Regions from separate parts of the Homo sapiens genome. Here region 2 is linked to region 1. Evidence: promoter capture Hi-C in human tissues and cell types (Jung and others, 2019). All regions are on one chromosome and are shown on one strand. Each heading gives the region's core, a stretch centred on a gene start or on the middle of the fragment in contact. The rest is flanking DNA. Distances are from core to core; before and after follow the strand shown. Region 1 holds the start of TMEM147 (transmembrane protein 147). Region 2 holds the start of GPR42 (G protein-coupled receptor 42).

Region 1 (3,693 bases), core at 1,194-3,693:
GGCAAGGCTGGACCCTGGCCTGCACACATCCCCTCCTGTGGTCTGTGGTGGTGGCCCCACCAGCCTCCACACCTAGGCCACCAACTTAGTCCTGGAAAAAAGAGGCATGGGAGCTTAGGAGCATGAAGGCCTCATCTTGGTCCTTCTCTTCCCCAAGACCACAGTCCATTCCTACACGGCCACCCAGAAGACAGTGGACGGGCCATCAAGGAAGGCCTGGCGAGATGGGCGGGGTGCCCACCAGAACATCATCCCAGCCTCCACTGGGGCTGCGAAAGCTGTGACCAAAGTCATCCCAGAGCTCAAAGGGTATGAGGACAAGAAGCTGCAACCAGGGTGGGGGCATACGCCAGGAGGACTGGACTGGCCCGGCCCTCAGTCCTTAAGAGGAAAGCAGGGGCCTGGCCCAGCCACAGGGAAAGGGGGAATGGAGGGCAACGTCCCTAAGTTCTGACTCCTGTTCCTCATGGGGGATTCTCCAGGAAGCTGACAGGGATGGCGTTCCGGGTACCAACCCCGGATGTGTCTGTCGTGGACCTGACCTGCCGCCTCGCCCAGCCTGCCCCCTACTCAGCCATCAAGGAGGCTGTAAAAGCAGCAGCCAAGGGGCCCATGGCTGGCATCCTTGCCTACACCGAGGATGAGGTAGGGGCTGAGGAGAGGAGACCCTGGGAGGAGCCCTCTGGGAAGGGACATGATTTCCACTTGCCAGGGAGCTGCTCTCAATGTGCCAAGTCAGAAACTGCAGGGCAGGAAGGGAGATCTCCCTGCCTCAGGGCCTTTGCACTTGCTGTTCCTTTAGTCTGGAATGCTTCCCTTGCCAGGTGACCATACAGTCTGTCCTTACTTCCTCCAAGTCTCTGGAGGAACCTCCCTCTTCAGCAAGGCACCCCCTCAAAATATGTTCTTTTTGTGGCCATATTCCTCACCTGAAATTTCATTTCATAGTCACTGTTGGCCCCAGTGGTGTGTGCACTCCAAGAAAACAGGGATTTAGGGGCTGCCTTTTCACTTTTGTGGCTCCAACCTGGCATACAGCAGGTGACTAATACATGCTTAGTGAACAAAAGACAACAGCTCCCATTTTTTTCAATACTTGCTCAGGGCCAGGCCATGGCCAGATGCCTTCTCTGTGAGGAGTGGATGCCATGGTCATGGTGGACCCCTGTACATCCACCTTGGTGCTGTCTCCCTGCATTAACTCCTGCAGGTCCACTTTCCCACAGTCACTGGGATCTTTTGTTTTAATGGAATCACATTGCATCACCCGTTTTCAGGATTGAAAACACTCCTGTGGCCTTTCATGACACTAGGGCTAAAACCCTCAGGTCCTCCCTTCCTGCAGCTCCTTCTACCTCAGACACTGTGCTGAGGGCCCCAGCCGGTCAGATCTTTCTAGTCATCTAGACCCAGGCTCATGGCCACCCCTCAGAGAGGCCCTCCATGCTGGCCCATTCCAAACGCTTGCATTATTCCTAGGAAAGGGATGTACTGGTACAGCATGAGGGTGTTTGTGACCTGTGCCCTTTGGCCAGACCCTGACACAGTGCCTTGGTCATACCCTGCACTTGGTCATACCCTCCAGTCCAGAGACTGGACACAGTAGGGCTACATCAAATATTATAGATGAATGCATGGATGGGCGATAGAGTTAAGAGTCGGGGCCTCAGCTCCTGGAGGTCCTTGCTCTGCCGGACACACTTATCTTTGAAATTCTGACTTCCAGGTCGTCTCTACGGACTTCCTCGGTGATACCCACTCGTCCATCTTCGATGCTAAGGCCGGCATTGCGCTCAATGACAATTTCGTGAAGCTCATTTCATGGTAAGGGGGAAGGAGCTGGAGACTTAGAGGGAGGGGAACTAAGGGGTGGTCGGAAGGAACCCCCTTGAACCTCCCGACCCCTCCTCCACAGGTACGACAACGAATATGGCTACAGTCACCGGGTGGTCGACCTCCTCCGCTACATGTTCAGCCGAGACAAGTGAAACGGGAAGGTCCTTTCTTTCCTTCCCAGGGGCCGGGGCCGGAACATGTGCCTCCCGTTCCAGCATCTGGCTGCCCGGGGGAGGAAGGACACCCGGGGCGGGCGCCCCACGCCGATGGGTCCATGGTGAAATAAAAAACAGTGCTCACGGCTGCGTCCCGTATCTCTGCGCCGGTCAGGGCGGGTTCTGATCCGGGTTTGAGGCCCGCCCCACCCTTACTCGATCGCCTGCGCCCACGGGCGAGGGGTCGCGCTCGACTCCAAGCCGGGTTCCACTTCAGGAGACCGGGACCGCGATGGCAGCGGTAGAGGCCCCGCATGGCCGGAAGTCACTCCCCAAAGCGCTGGGCCGGCAGCGGTGGGACCCAGGGCCGGCCACGGGCTCTCTGACGTCACTGGGCGCGACGCCCCGCGCCGGGACTACTGCTCCCAGAAGGTCGCGCGCGGGCCCCCGCCAGTCAGGTGGGTGCCAGGCCCTGGCCGTGGCGAAAGAGCCGGCGGAGCCGGAGACCCGCTCCCGGAGACGCCGCCTCGCGATCCCCGCGCGGGCGGGACCGGGCGGCCGGCATCATGACCCTGTTTCACTTCGGGAACTGCTTCGCTCTTGCCTACTTCCCCTACTTCATCACCTACAAGTGCAGCGGCCTGTGAGTGCGGGAAGGGCGCGGGGCGGAGAGGGCGCGGGGCCCGGGCCGACCCTCACCTCCCGCTTCTCCAGGTCCGAGTACAACGCCTTCTGGAAATGCGTCCAGGCTGGAGTCACCTACCTCTTTGTCCAACTCTGCAAGGTGAGGGCCACCGGGAAGCCACGTGTTCTGGCCCCCAGGCTCTGCAGACCCAGGGACCCGCCCCCGTTGCCTATCCGCGCCCCCGCCGCCCCACGGTGGGACCGCCCTCGGGACTCCGCACTGGGAGGCGTCAGGATACCTAGAGAGGATGGACTTTAAAGAGGGCACGACCTGAGAAGAGACCTAGAAGCAACTTTTGCGTAGCACTTAGTAAAACTGAGAAAACCTCAGTAGTGTGGTTGGCTAACAGGTTTTTTTTGGTGCGGTTAAGAGTGATCACTGATTCCGTACGTGCTGCTAACACTGCCCAAGGAGCAGCACCTTCAGACCTGACTCAGATGCCCTGTGATCACCCAGAACTCAAACTTCCAGCCCCCTCGGGGACCCGGGGACCTATCCTCTATCTCCCCGATTCCTGTAATTTTGCCACCATCTGGTGGTTCCTCTTCCAGATGGGCCCCCAGAACCTGTCCTGCCCTCTTCCTACCCACGAACTTCCCACAAATCCCACGTGGTTTATCTTGATCCCCTCACCTTGAAGTGACCTCTTTCTGCTTTCTGTTCTCAGATGCTGTTCTTGGCCACTTTCTTTCCCACCTGGGAAGGCGGCATCTATGACTTCATTGGGGTGAGAGGGGCCAGGGAAGGGAAGGGAGTTCAGGAATGGGGCTCCCTGTCCCCCTGTGCTTACTTAAGCCTCAACCTGACCCGCAGGAGTTCATGAAGGCCAGCGTGGATGTGGCAGACCTGATAGGTCTAAACCTTGTCATGTCCCGGAATGCCGGCAAGGGAGAGTACAAGATCATGGTTGCTGCCCTGGGCTGGGCCACTGCTGAGCTTATTATGTCCCGGTGCGTACAGCAGCCTGGAGCCCAGACCCCTGAGAAGGGACACCTGGGTTCCACGGGGGTGCTGGAG
Region 2 (3,494 bases), core at 757-3,256, 170 kb before region 1:
ACCAGAAAATTGAGGAGGAGAGATTCCCTACTCATTCTACAAAAACAGTCTGATTCTGATATCGTAATCTGGCAGGACACAGTGAAAAAAGAAAACTGTAGGCCAATAGCCCGATGAACATAGATCCAAAAATCCTCAATAAAATACTAGCAAACCAAATCCAGCAGCATGACAAAATCATAATTCAGCATGATCAAGTGGGCTTTATTCCTGGGATGCAAAGATGTTTCAATATATGCAAATCAATAAATGTGACTCACCACATAAAATTAAAAACAAAAATTATATGATCATCTCAATAGATGCAGAAAAAAACATATAATAAAATCCAACATCCCTTCATGATAAAAACCCTCAAAAAACTAAACATCGAAGGAACACACCTCAAAATAATAAGAGCCATCCAGGACAAACTCACAGCCAACATCATACTGAATGGGCAAACGTTGGAAGCATTCCCCCTAAGAAATGGAAAAAGACAGGGATGCCTACTCCCACTACTCCTATTCAACATAGTAGTGGAAGTCCTAGCCAGAGCAATCAGGCAAGAAAAAGGAATAAAAGGCATCCAAATAGAAAGGGGAAGTCAAATTATCTCTGTTCACTGATGATATGATTCTATACCTAGAAAACCCTACAGATTCCTCCAAAATACTCCTAGACCTGATAAATGACTGGCAGTTTCAGGATGCAAAATCAGTGTATAAAAATCAGTAGCATTACTATATACCAACAATTGTCAAGCTGTGAGCCAAATAAAGAACAGAATCCCAATTACAATAGCCACACACAAAAATAAAATACCTAGGAATACATCTAACCAAGGAAGTGAAAGTGAAAGATCTCTACAAGGAGAACTAAAAAACACAAATAAATGAAAAACATTCCATGTTCATGGATTAGAAGAATCAATATCATTAAAATGTCCATACTGCTCAAAGCAATCTACAGATTCCACCCAATTCCTACCAAATTATCAATGTCATTTTTCATAAAATGGAATCATTCTACCAAAAAGACACCTGCATGTGTATGTTTGTCACAGCACTATTCACAATGGCAAAGTGATGGAATCAACTTAGGTGCCCATCAATGGTGGACTAGATAAAGAAAAAATGGTACATACACATCACGAAATACTATGCAGCTATAAAAAAGAATGAAATCATGTCCTTTGCTGCAACATAAATGCAGCTGGAGGCCTAAGTGAATGATCCTAAGTGAATTAACACAGAAACAGAAAATCAAATGCTGTATGTTCTCACTTTTAAGTGGGAGGTAAACAATGGGTACACGCAAACATTAAAGATGGAAACCATAGACAGTGGGGACTCCAAAGTGGGGGAGGGAGGGCGGAGGACAAGGGTGGGAAAACTGCCTATTGGGTACTATGTTCACAATTTTGGTAATGGGTTCAATAGAAGCCCAAACCTCAGTATTATGCAATATACCCATGTAACAAACCTGCACATGTGCTCCCGAATCTAAAATAAATATTTTCAAAAAGCAATTGACCTATATTATTAACATTTTAATCTACCTGTATATATGTTTTAATCTGCATGTGTTCATGCTTTGAAATATGGTACAGGTACTATGACAATCCCTGTTCTGTAGGGGAGGAAGAAGAGACACATCTCTTCCCCCACATCACAAAGTCAGGAAGGAACAGACCTCACGGAGTCCAGTCTGTCACTGGCTCATGCTTTGTGCCCTTAAAAGGCAAACTGGATAAGTGCCATTCTAGAGAATCAGACAAAATTCAAGTGGAAGAGAGGGGAGGGGAAGAAGACGTCAGCTGGGGCCTGTTTGGAGCATCCCAGCTGAGGCTGCGCAAGGAGGGAGGCACGCAGTTGTGGAATTTGTTCCCCTTTTTGCATACTGACCAGCCCTGGCAACGGAGCTCAAGGCATCTTTGTGCCACTGCTCAACAGTGAGTGATGTCATGGGCACGGCCAGGTCTTTATCAGTTCTGCCGGATAAATAGCCAACTGCACTAGGTCTGGAGAGACAGCAAGGTGCTGTGCGGCAGAGCATTTGGGGTCTCAAAGAAGCAGGTGAGCCTGGGCCCGAGGGGCTGGGTGGAGGAGCACCTTGGTGCTTCTCTGCTGGGGAAGGGACAGGGGACAGGGCATGCTCAGGAAGACAGGCAGGCTGACCCCGCCTGGAAGGCACCCAGAGACAAGAGGGGTGGGCGTAGTGACCTCGTGCCCTTTTAGGGGAGATGCTGCTGGCCAGAGGCCGTTAGGGCCCCCACTACCAACTCCATGTTACTCTCTCTCACCAGTGGCCACCACCATGGATACAGGCCCCGACCAGTCCTACTTCTCCGGCAATCACTGGTTCGTCTTCTCGGTGTACCTTCTCACTTTCCTGGTGGGGCTCCCCCTCAACCTGCTGGCCCTGGTGGTCTTCGTGGGCAAGCTGCGGTGCCGCCCGGTGGCCGTGGACGTGCTCCTGCTCAACCTGACCGCCTCGGACCTGCTCCTGCTGCTGTTCCTGCCTTTCCGCATGGTGGAGGCAGCCAATGGCATGCACTGGCCCCTGCCCTTCATCCTCTGCCCACTCTCTGGATTCATCTTCTTCACCACCATCTATCTCACCGCCCTCTTCCTGGCAGCTGTGAGCATTGAACGCTTCCTGAGTGTGGCCCACCCACTGTGGTACAAGACCCGGCCGAGGCTGGGGCAGGCAGGTCTGGTGAGTGTGGCCTGCTGGCTGTTGGCCTCTGCTCACTGCAGCGTGGTCTACGTCATAGAATTCTCAGGGGACATCTCCCACAGCCAGGGCACCAATGGGACCTGCTACCTGGAGTTCTGGAAGGACCAGCTAGCCATCCTCCTGCCCGTGCGGCTGGAGATGGCTGTGGTCCTCTTTGTGGTCCCGCTGATCATCACCAGCTACTGCTACAGCCGCCTGGTGTGGATCCTCGGCAGAGGGGGCAGCCACCGCCGGCAGAGGAGGGTGGCGGGGCTGGTGGCGGCCACGCTGCTCAACTTCCTTGTCTGCTTTGGGCCCTACAACGTGTCCCATGTCGTGGGCTATATCTGCGGTGAAAGCCCGGTGTGGAGGATCTACGTGACGCTTCTCAGCACCCTGAACTCCTGTGTCGACCCCTTTGTCTACTACTTCTCCTCCTCCGGGTTCCAAGCCGACTTTCATGAGCTGCTGAGGAGGTTGTGTGGGCTCTGGGGCCAGTGGCAGCAGGAGAGCAGCATGGAGCTGAAGGAGCAGAAGGGAGGGGAGGAGCAGAGAGCGGACCGACCAGCTGAAAGAAAGACCAGTGAACACTCACAGGGCTGTGGAACTGGTGGCCAGGTGGCCTGTGCTGAAAACTAGGTCCTCCGGGGGAGGAGGGTGTAGCTGGCGTGTCATCCTCAGGGCGCTTCCTCGCTCACGCCAGGAGGGACTTGGAGTGGCGAGCTGGGGCCCGATGGGGCTTGGGGGCAGAGTAGACATCTAGCCTCCCTAAGGGTATGCGCGCTAAAGCCCAG

Evidence for each region. The method cuts DNA at HindIII sites, captures the fragments that hold promoters and counts their contacts. A contact is called where the count stands out against the background at its distance.
Region 2: a contact is called between the fragment with the promoter of GPR42 here and the fragment with the promoter of TMEM147 in region 1, in 2 of the 25 tissues and cell types used here (H1 embryonic stem cells and lymphoblastoid cells).

The regions. Positions count from the first base shown.
Region 1 is chr19:35,543,183-35,546,875 of GRCh38, forward strand. It overlaps TMEM147 (transmembrane protein 147), which reads left to right and starts at 2,444. Exons shown (of 7, transcript NM_032635.4): 1 at 2,444-2,634; 2 at 2,706-2,775; 3 at 3,344-3,403; 4 at 3,490-3,626. The coding sequence starts at 2,558. GAPDHS (glyceraldehyde-3-phosphate dehydrogenase, spermatogenic) reads left to right here. Exons shown (of 11, transcript NM_014364.5): 8 at 158-309; 9 at 483-645; 10 at 1,727-1,824; 11 at 1,916-2,137. The coding sequence ends at 1,988. It overlaps TMEM147-AS1 (TMEM147 antisense RNA 1), which reads right to left and starts at 2,847. Exons shown (of 4, transcript NR_038396.1): 1 at 2,755-2,847; 2 at 1-91. RefSeq lists enhancers at 1-346, 2,061-2,753 and a silencer at 2,446-3,025. The HindIII fragment of the contact is 10,627 bases long and covers 1-3,693 here.
Region 2 is chr19:35,369,062-35,372,555 of GRCh38, forward strand. It overlaps GPR42 (G protein-coupled receptor 42), which reads left to right and starts at 2,007. Exons shown (of 2, transcript NM_001348195.2): 1 at 2,007-2,057; 2 at 2,288-3,494. The coding sequence starts at 2,299. The coding sequence ends at 3,339. The HindIII fragment of the contact is 14,423 bases long and covers 1-3,494 here.